3 separate regions of the Homo sapiens genome follow, and regions 1 and 3 are each linked to region 2. Evidence: promoter capture Hi-C in human tissues and cell types (Jung and others, 2019). All regions are on one chromosome and are shown on one strand. Each heading gives the region's core, a stretch centred on a gene start or on the middle of the fragment in contact. The rest is flanking DNA. Distances are from core to core; before and after follow the strand shown.

What was found. The method cuts DNA at HindIII sites, captures the fragments that hold promoters and counts their contacts. A contact is called where the count stands out against the background at its distance.
Region 1: a contact is called between a fragment that was not itself captured here and the fragment with the promoter of PPIL2 in region 2, in 2 of the 25 tissues and cell types used here (dorsolateral prefrontal cortex and lymphoblastoid cells).
Region 3: a fragment that was not itself captured here is called in contact with the fragment with the promoter of PPIL2 in region 2 in 1 of the 25 tissues and cell types used here (lymphoblastoid cells).

What each region holds. Positions count from the first base shown.
Region 1 is chr22:21,928,694-21,932,052 of GRCh38, reverse strand. PPM1F (protein phosphatase, Mg2+/Mn2+ dependent 1F) reads left to right here. Exons shown (of 8, transcript NM_014634.4): 6 at 762-905. Among named protein-coding and RNA genes, the nearest start is that of PPM1F-AS1, 7.9 kb to the left of the region's middle. The HindIII fragment of the contact is 5,175 bases long and covers 1-3,359 here.
Region 2 is chr22:21,663,847-21,667,423 of GRCh38, reverse strand. PPIL2 (peptidylprolyl isomerase like 2) reads right to left here and starts at 1,412. Exons shown (of 20, transcript NM_014337.4): 1 at 1,293-1,412. The coding sequence starts at 1,324. RefSeq lists enhancers at 976-1,025, 1,096-1,335, 570-1,480. The HindIII fragment of the contact is 22,549 bases long and covers 1-3,577 here.
Region 3 is chr22:21,945,516-21,948,856 of GRCh38, reverse strand. It overlaps PPM1F (protein phosphatase, Mg2+/Mn2+ dependent 1F), which reads left to right. Exons shown (of 8, transcript NM_014634.4): 2 at 2,749-3,014. The coding sequence starts at 2,809. Among named protein-coding and RNA genes, the nearest start is that of PPM1F, 5.7 kb to the left of the region's middle. The HindIII fragment of the contact is 4,794 bases long and covers 1-3,341 here.

The DNA.
Region 1 (3,359 bases), core at 189-2,688, 260 kb before region 2:
TGAGGTCAGGAGTTTGAGACCAGCCTGGCCAACATGGTGAAACCCTGCCTCTACTAAAAATTAAAAAAAAAAATTAGCCAGGTATGGTGGCACGCGCCTATAGTCCCAGCTACTTGGGAGGCTGAGGCATGAGAATCACTTGAGCCCAGGAGATGGAAGTTGCAGTGAGCTGAGACTGTGCCACTGCACTCCAGCCTGGGTGACAGAGCAAGATTTTGCCTCTAAATAAATAAATAGCCAGGCGCAGTGACTCACGCCTGTAATCCTAGCACTTTGGGAGGCCAAGGCAGGCAGATTGCCTGAGCTCAGGAGTTCAAGACCAGCCTGGGAAAGAAACATGGCAAAACCCCGTCTCTACTAAAAACACAAAAAATTAGCCAGGCGTGGTGCTGTACGCCTGTAATCTTAGCTACTTGGGAGGCTGAGGCAGGAGAATCACTTGAACCCGGGAGGCGGAGGTTGCACTGAGCCGAGATTGTGCCACTGCAGCCCAGCCTGAATGACAGAGCAAGACTCTGTCTCTAAATAAATAAATAAATAAATAAATAAACATCTTTATTGAGATACAATTGACAGGTAGTAAGTGGTGCATATTTGAAGTCCACAATTTGGCAAGTTTTGGCTTATACACATATACACCTGTGGATTCCTCACCACAGTAACGGAAGTATTCATCACCCCCGGAAGCTTCATCCTGCCCCGTGTCATCCTCTGCCCTTCCCTACCTCCTCTCAACTCTCATGGGCCCTCTCTCCCTGCAGCGGCTGCAGAGCGGCACCACAGGTGTGTGTGCGCTCATTGCAGGAGCGACCCTGCACGTCGCCTGGCTCGGGGATTCCCAGGTCATTTTGGTACAGCAGGGACAGGTGGTGAAGCTGATGGAGCCACACAGACCAGAACGGCAGGTAAGGGGATCCCTGCGCCCAGGCCCAGGATATTCCTGGCCTCCATCATGCTGGGCCCATAGGGGAACCCCACCCAGCCTGGGAACTTCAGGTAGTAGTAATCCTGGCACCTTTCAAGAGGGAGGGCTCCCTGCCTGATTTGAGTGGCCGGGGGTCCCACGTGAGCCCTTCCTGAGAGCTCTGTGGGTCACAGCTATATGGAGCCCAGAGCTCCGGGGGAGAGCAGAGCCCTCTGCACTGACAGGCATCCCAGTGCAGTCAGTGCAGCCCAGTGCAGACCAGAGCCCATCATACACACGGACAAGGAGGCCACAGGCTGTGGGTGAGGAAGGCCTCAGGGAGGTGATGCTGCCCCGAGGCTGGAGGGAACCTGGCTTGGGGCTGTACTGACTAGAGGCTGCCTGGGACCCTGGCACTCAGGTCATCACCTGGACATGAGGATGACAGTCCCACTCAGACCTCTTCTCAGAAGACTGTCTCATCCATGTGTCTCCTGAGGTTGGATTGCGAGCATTCAGATATCATGGAATGACTGTTTATCCCTCAAACCCCACTTTTCCCACGTGCTGTTCTCCACCAGCTATGTTTGATTAACCATGCACATGGTGGATAATTCTACGTCAGCACATAGGAGCACCCATCCTTTCTTGGGGCTGCGGACATTGCATTCATCATGCAGTCCCTTGTGGGTGAGCATGAAGATCTTTTCAGTCTTTCGGTGCTAAAAACAATGCATCTCTACCTACTTTGTGCAGCATTAATTGCTCAGAGTCAAGTGTACCTATATCTGTAGGACACATCCCCAGAAGTGGGATGGCTAGGTTGGAACTGATGCACGTACAGTCTGGGTAGATTTGCCAAGCTTCCCACCTCAGGCCATGCCAGCCTGGGCTGGCACTACATTCCCAAGAAGGTCCATTTCCCCACAGTCTCACCAGGCTGCAGGATTCTTCCTGTCAGGTAAGAAGCCTGTCTTGGGGCAATTGTTAAGTTTGCTTTTCTGTTACAGAGTGAGTTTGAGCGTGTTTTCAAAAGCTGAAGATCATTTACACAGCCTTTCCTGCAAACACTGTTTTTTTCCTTTGCCTGTTTTTCTTATCAGTTTATAGGTTCCTTGTATATGTGAAGGAGGTTGGTTCCTTGTCTGTGATGATTTGCAAATGTTTTTCCATGCATCTTTTATTTTTGTTTATGGGCTTTTGCCACATGGAGGCTTTGTGTTTTTCTGTAGTTGAGTAGTCTTTTTGTGGCTTCTGGTTTGGAAAGCACATAGAGACACCAGGACTTGATGATTGTAACAGTCAGGGGCAGCTACATTCCTTGGCCTTTCACTGCGGCTCACGGTCTGGTATGGGCCCCCTGTACGTCCTCTCCCCATTGTACAGAGGAGAAAACTGAGGCTCAGTCACTTGCCCAGAGCACACCGCCAAAGTCACAGATAGTCTCTGCCACTCCCCTGCCTCCACCACCGTGGGGGAATTTGGCACCTGCTCCCTAGTGGGCTCTCCTCCCCAGGATATGCAGTCAGATGAAATGTGGCCAAGTCAGGATTCGTGCTGGGCCCACTCCCACCTGCTGCCTGCACACCTACAGGCTCAGCATTCAGCACCCCATTAAAGCCCAGTGGGGGCTCTGTTCAAACACTGCCTGAGTCCTGCAGTATGGCGTCGTGGCAGAGCATGGACAGATGGCCTTGCCTGGTCCCGGCTCCACCGCTTCCAAGTCCATCACACAGGGGTCCCTGGAGGTTTGGGGTAAGGATTGAGTGTCCCAGTGCATGTGGAGCACAGAGATCAGAGCTTGCACAAGAGAAGCACACACAGGTGTCTGTGTTCTTGGCTGCAGCCCGCATGGGCCAAGGAGTTCAGATCCAGTGCCCCCCACCTCCCCTTTCCTGCCGCCATGCTCTGTAGGCTTGGCCCCTCCTGCTGTGATCCTGATCACAGCCTTCCACCCTAGAGAATTAATCACAGATCCAGGCCAAGGTTCTCCCACAAAAACAAGCATCATGTCGGTTACAAGAGCAAGAAACTGGCCTCAACTTGGCGAGCTTCAACGGGGGTCCAGCAGCGGCCCAGAGCAGCTTCCAGGAGTACGTGGGGGGAGTGCGTGGTGCTCTGCCTTGTTCTGCGGCTGTCTGAACAGTCTCCTGCCTCTGCACTCAGTTCAGCCTCCAAACACTGAGTGCCCACTCTGCACAAGATACTTTGTTGAGGCAGTGAGATAACACAGGACCCACTTCCTGCCTCTAAGTCTAATGGGGGAGCAGGAGGAGGGCAAGGACCTGGCAGGATGAGGCAGAGAGATGAATGGAATGGAGCCGCATCTCAGGCAGTTGCAATTCCTGCAGGCCAGGGGAGAGACCAGGAGGAAAGGGCAGGTTATGCCAGAATCAGGGCCAGGTGTGGAGGTGTGCCCCAAGTGATCCTCCCACCTCTCAAGCCTCAGGAGACA
Region 2 (3,577 bases), core at 163-2,662:
AGGACTTTGGGAGGCCGAGGCAGGTGGATCACCTGAGGTCAGGAGTTCGAGACCAGCCTGACCAACATGGAGAAACCCCTTCTCTACTAAAAATACAAAATTAGCTGGGCATGGTGGCGTATGCCTGTAATCCCAGCTACTCGGGAGGCTGAGGCAGGAAAATCTCTTGAAGCCGGGAAGCGGAGGTTGCGGTGAGCCAAGATCTCACCATTGCACTCTAGCTTGGGCAACAAGAGCGAAACTGCGTCTCAAAAAAAAAAAAAAAAAAAAATGAGGACTGAGGATTGAATACTATATTTAGCAACAAGAAGTCGCTGGGAACCTGAAAAGAGAGGCCGCTGAAGTCGAGAGAAAACAAAGAGCAGGTGAAATCCCAGATACCAAAGGAGGGCTTCAGAAAGAGGGAGTGGTCAACGGTGTGACATACTGTTGAGAAGCCCAACAGTTCTGGGGTCGAAATTCTGACTTGAGTGGTTTCAAGAGACTCAGAAAACAGCATGAAGCCACTAGTCTCTCACTTGTTCTTAAGAGAAACAACACGGCGGCAGCGGGAGGGGAACGTGGGACGTGGGGCACGGGGCACGGGTGGATTTTTAAATTTTATTTATTATTTTTGAGACAGCGTCTCGCTCTGTCGCCCAGGCTGGAGTGCAGTGACACGATCTCGGCTCACCGCAACCTCCGCCTCCCGGGTTCAAGCGATTCCCCTGCCTCAGCCTCCCAAATAGCTAGGATTACAGGCGCCCGTCACCACGCCCCGCTAATTTTTGTATTTTTAGTAGAGACGGGGTTTCACCGTATTAGCCAGGCTGGTCTTGAACTCCTGACCTCAGGTGATCCGCCCGCCTCGGCCTCCCAAAGTGCTGTGATTACAGGTGAGCCACTGCGCCCGACCTGGTTTGCTTTAAATTAGAAGGCTCTGCAGCACGTTTGCAGGCTGATAGGCATGAACCAGAACACAGCGAGACGTGAAGTACGGAAGAGGTAGAGACTACTCATTCAAGGGCGAAACTCGCGAACAGACGGGGGACGGTCCGGGCAGAACCAGAGTAAGGAAAACCGGGCTGCGCTCGAGCCCGCAGCTGACGTCATCGGAGCCGCGGCCCCGGGAGAGCGCGGCGGCCCGAGGGTCATTACCCTGACTGGAGACAGGGCGGCAGCTTCCGGGAGGAAGTGACCTTTGGGCTGTGCTCTGGGGAGTAGCTGAGAGGGAAGGCGAGCGGCGCGCAGTGCGGGACAGGCGGTTCACTGAGGCAGAGTGGAGCGCCGCTCCCGACTGCGGCTCAACTTACATTTTGTCCTTTTGGTGCTGTCGCTTCCCCATGGCGGAGCGGCGGCGGCGACTAGCGAGCACGAAAAAACAACGGCTGACAACTCAGACCATGGAGCCGCAGCCGAGTTCCGTGACCACTTCCGGGTTCCGCGGCGCGCCCCGGAAACGGGCGCCTGGCGTGCTGGGAATTGTGGTTCGCTAGCGCCAGGTGCTCATGCTCGGAAGGATCGCCTGCCCAGTATGGGGTCCTAGCTAGGTGTGCCATCTCCCGCAGGCGTCTTTTCGGGGCCGAGCTCCCTCAGCCTCGAAGCCCCATCTTCTTGAGGGGTCTGTCTGGACCGCCTTGTCTACCCCCCTAGCCACGGCTCAGGGCCATTCCCATACTGGGTTCTCAGGTCTTATTTATTTATTTTCGAGACAGGGTCTCGCTCTGTCGCCCAGGTTGGAGTGCAGTGGCACAATCACAGCTCACTACTGCCTCGACCTCCCAGGCTCAAGCGATTCTCCCACCTCAGCCTCCCGAGTAGCTACGGGCACGCACCACCACACCCGGCTAATTTGTTAATTTTTTGTAGAGACAGGCTCTTACAATGTTGCCCAGGCTGGTCTGGAGCTCTTGAGCTCAAGCAGTCCTCCCGCCTTGGCCTCCCAAAGTGCTGGGATTACAGGCCTGAGGCTTCGCGCCCGGCCAGCGCTCAGGTCTTTTTCAACGTCCTCCTAGAGCTTCAAGTCTCATGAGCCTCCACCCCATCCCTTCCCGCCTCCGTGGCAGATGCCTTCAAAGCCATGTACCACTCTCGTTCTACTCGCTCACTTCTCATTCTCTCTGCATATTCGGTCCCCACCGCCTCCAGGCCCCTCGGAGGCCCAGCAGCAGGTGGCCATCAAGCCTAGAGGTCCAAAGCCCTACCTGATCCCTTCCGTCTCTTCTGCCAGACCCTTCCCTTGGGTCAGATCAGTACCTTGGGCCCCTAGCTACACTCAGGCCCAGGGTAATCTTGCCTAGGCTCCTAATTTTAAATGCCATTTGTATCCCATGACTCCCAGTACTAAGTCACCAGCACTCCAGGTTCCTGATCTCCACTTGGGTAACCACTGATCTGAAATGTAACATGTCTGGATGGGCGTGGTGGCTCACGCCTGTAATCCCAGCACTTTGTGTGTGTGTGTGTGTGTGTGTGTGTGTGTGTGTTTAGTAGAGACGGGGTTTCACCATGTTAGCCAGGATGGTCTCGATCTCCTGACCTCCTGATTCGCCTGCCTTGGCCTTCCAAAGTTCCGGGATTACAGGCGTGAGCCACCACGCCCGGCCAATCCCAGCACTTTGAGAGGCTGAGGCAGGCGGATCACTTGAGGTCAGGAGTTCAAGACTAACCTGGCCAACATGGCAAAACCCCATCTCTACTAAAAATACAAAAAATTAGCCTGGTGTGGTGGCACACACCTGTAATTCCAGCTACTTGGGAGGCCGAGACAGTAGCTTGAACTGGGGAGGCAGAGGTTGCCGTGAGCCAAGATTAGGCCACTGCATCCCAGCCTGGGTGACAGAGTGACTCTGCCTAAAAAAATTAAATTAACATGTCTGGTCAAAGTAGAATTTTCTTTTTTTTTTTCTTTTTTTTTTTGACATGGAGTTTTGCTCTTGTTGCCCAGGCTGGAGTGCAATGGTGTGATCTTGGCTCACTGCAACCTCCGCCTCCCAGGTTCAAGCGATTCTCCTGCCTCAGTCTCCCAGGTAGCTGGGATTATTACAGGCATGCGCCACCACGCCTGGCTAATTTTGTATTTTTAGTAGAGAAGGGGTTTCTCCATGTTGGTCAGGCTGGTCTCGAACTCCCGACCTCAGGTGATCCTCCCGCCTCAGCCCTCCCAAAGTCCTGGGATTACATGCATGAGTCACCGCACCCGGCCATAAAGCAGAATTTTCAATCCTCCCTCTTCTCCCAGTCCCCACTCTGCTGAGCAGTACCACCATCCACCCAGTCACCGAAAGCCAGCTATCTTTGCCTTATTTCATGGCTGGCTTCTTATTCTCTAGGTTTTAACATAAGTGTCACCTCCCCAGAGAGACCTTCCCTAACCACCCACTTCCATGCATCTCCCATAAAGTCTGTCACAATTCCTCACAATTTGTAATCCTGTGTAATTCAGTCTGTGTCCCGGTTTACTGAGCACCCTCCCTGACACAACCACTGCCTCCATGACACACATACAGTGGATGGGATGTAGCTCCTTAAGGGCTGGAATCTTAGGCCCAGCATGGTGGCAGCACCTGTGATTCCAGCTACTTGGGAGGCTGTAGTG
Region 3 (3,341 bases), core at 509-3,008, 280 kb before region 2:
TTCTGCCCTTGACAGTGGGGCTTTACACTGTGGGCAGGGGTTTCTCCAGGGGGGCCCTCTGTGTGCTCTAGCGGGGAGCATGCTGTCCTCTCACTTGGATCCTAATCATAAATTCACATGAGCACATTTTGTGGTGAGACAGTAGAGCCTCCAGATCACTTGGAATTGCAAGGGAGTGGGAGGAGGCCCCAGGCACTGGCAGTTGCTGGGGGCAGCTCTGCATCGTTCACATTCTCCCAGAAGCTCCAGGGGCCAGGGCAGTCCCAGGCAGAAGAGGGGCCCTTGGCCGCTTGCACTGCTTGAGGGCAGCCAAGCTTGCTGGGAAATTCACGCCATCTTCGAATGCCTTACAGCTCTGCTGGGGCATGGCTGGCAGGACGTGCCGCCTCCTCATTGACCTACTAGGGCTCCCAGCCTCTGCTCATTTCTCCAGCTCACAGTCTTCCCTTTGTCGTTTGAATGTCAGTGTCCCTCCTGCTCTCAAAGTGATTTTTCCTTTTTTGCTTTATGTTCTTTTTTTTTCTTTTTTGGTAGAGATGGGGGGTGGGGGGGGGGTGGCGATCTCACTGCCCAGGCTGGTCTTGAACTCCTGGCCTCAAGCACTCCTCCTGCCTCACCCTCCCCAAGCGCTGAGATATAGACCTGAGCCACAGCGCCTTGCCAGTTGTTTTATGTTCTTTATCCTTTTACCTGCTTGCCTTCTGTAACCTGGGTTGCATTAAATTTACTCCTACTTGTGAGTAAATGTGAACCATAGCAATAAATTTAGTCTATCCCCAGAACCTTCAGTAGCAAGCACCCCTATTCCTACGTTATTTGTATGTGTCCACTTTAAATAAATTACCTTTCAATTCTGCCTCTAAAAGAAGAGAAGGGTTTTGTGTTTTGTTAATTTACCACCCTTCACCCCTTGCATTCCAAATCCCTCACTGATCAGACATTTAACTTGGTGCTGGGACCTTTCCCTCTGCCCACCCCATTCTCTTTTGTGTTTTTTATCTTTAGGCTTCCAGAAGGCTTGTTCCAAGTTAGCAATTCCTGATAAGGACAGCCCTCTTGTGGGCTGTGAGCTCCCTGCATCTCTTACTTCCCACTCTCTTCATCCTGCACCTCAGGCCCCTGCCACAGCCGCCCTTTTAGCAAAGTTTGTAGGCAGAGTCTGTGGCTATTCTAAGACTGATGATTCTAGAAGATTCTCCTTGCCTTCTTCGTTCAGTTTTCAGAACCTGGAAGTCCTCATGAAGGTGATGGGCTGTGAAACTGTTCCCCAAATTCTCCACCCTAGAACTCGGGGTGTTCCTCAGAGTCTCATGTCCGTTTGTCACCATAAAAGAATGCAGTTTTTCTCCCTGGCTTAGTAACTGTGTAGGATTTCTTTTTTATTTTTTTCTGGATCCAATCTCATCCACTACTGCGTAGGACTCGCTGAATAAAGTTTCCCAGCCTGAGTGTTAGACAAAGCCCAAGGTGGAGTCCCCGCTGTGGGGAGGGTTTGGAGGGGTCAGGCACCCGAGAGGAAGGGGGCAGGAGAGAGAAGGGTCCATGCTGAGTGGGTGCTGGCAGGGAGGCCCAGGTGTGGGGCCTGGAGGTGAATCCCCGGGGCGACGCAAAGAACATGGAAGGGGGGGCGCTGGAGAGCTGTTTGGGTATAGGCAAGGCAGGCAGGCTGGGGAGGCGACTATGGAGATTCGGAGTTAGGAGAGAAGAGGAGCCAGAGCCACCCTGGGAGGAGGCTGTGAGGCACCATGTGCCTCTTTCCAGTGAGAGAGAAGCCGGTGAGGGAGTGAAGGCACAGGCTTTGCGATCCCTCTTTGGCCCTGTCTTCCTTCTGACACCTCAGGCGAGGGACTAACCCTCTCCAAACCTTGGGATTCTCATCTGTGAAATGGGGGCTTGTCCTGGCTCCTGGGGTGTTAGGGGCAACTCCCAGGGCTGGTCAGCTCTGGTCATCCCTAAGGACTTAGGGAGGAAGAGCCCACATGCCGCACAGTGGGGTCAGCGCCTGGAACTGTCCACAGTGCCCCTCTTCCAGCCAGGGCTTAGCAGGCCTGAGCCATTCTAGGCTCACAATTCCCTCCTCCTATTAGAGAGCATTGAATAGGCTCGATGGTGTCCCACAGCACCTCCTGTCTGTCCCAGATTAAACCTCTGCTTCTCTCCTGGCCACCCCTTGGGTGGCCCCAGCAGCCTCTGGGGATCCCTTCCTGCTCCCACTCTGGCCTATCTCCAAAACAGCCCTGGGCCGGCCTCCCGCATCTTGGCCCTTCTCTTTCCTCCCCTGAACACCACTAGAGCCCCAACAGGTGTCCCTCCTGCCATCTGGTCACCACGTCCAGGCTCACAGACCTGGTGGCTTCACTCCCTCACCTCAGAGCCCTCCTGGCTGCTCGGGACCCGTGATCAGGTTGAACCCCCTCACCTACCTCAGTGCCTGGCCTCGGCATCCCTGTCCTGCTCGTCTCTGGCCACGCTGGCCACCCTCTGCCAGGAACAGTCTTCCTCCTCTGTCACTTCTTGACAATGTCCACCCAGCTGCTGCTCCTGGCACCATCTCCTGAGACCGGATCTCTGGATGCCCACAAGTCCCCACCTGGACTCATGTCAAAACAGTGGCCAGGGTTGTCCCTCCACCCTCTAGTGGCCCTGAACCATGAGGCCATGCACCTGCCACATGGTGCTTGCAGGTGGGCACCTGCATTGCTGGTGCCATGGCCCCCTGATTCTGCTGACTCTGACATTTCTCCCCAGGGTGAAGCCTGGAGACCCTCTTGCCCTGGCCTAGCTGCAGGCCCCCGGGATGCTTTGGGCATGTCCTCTGGAGCCCCACAGAAGAGCAGCCCAATGGCCAGTGGAGCTGAGGAGACCCCAGGCTTCCTGGACACGCTCCTGCAAGACTTCCCAGCCCTGCTGAACCCAGAGGACCCTCTGCCATGGAAGGCCCCAGGGACGGTGCTCAGCCAGGAGGAGGTGGAGGGCGAGCTGGCTGAGCTGGCCATGGGCTTTCTGGGCAGCAGGTAGGCCTGTGCACCCCCAAAGGGGACGGGGAGTAAGGGCACGGCACCAGGGCCGACAAGGGATGTGGCTGCTGCTCCCCTACACGTCCAGCCCCACACGGGGATCTGCAGCCCCGGATCCCTATGCAGCACCATGTGGAACTCCCGTGGCTGCTATGGCAAAGCACCACACACTGGGCACTCAACACAGCCAAAGCTCATTCTTTCACAGGGCTGGAGGCCAGAGTCCAAGATCAAGGTGGCAGCTGCGCCATGCTCTCTCAAAGGCTGCAGGGAAGAGTCTGCCTTTCTGTTAGTGCCTGGCCTTGACTTCCTGGAGGTCCTTGG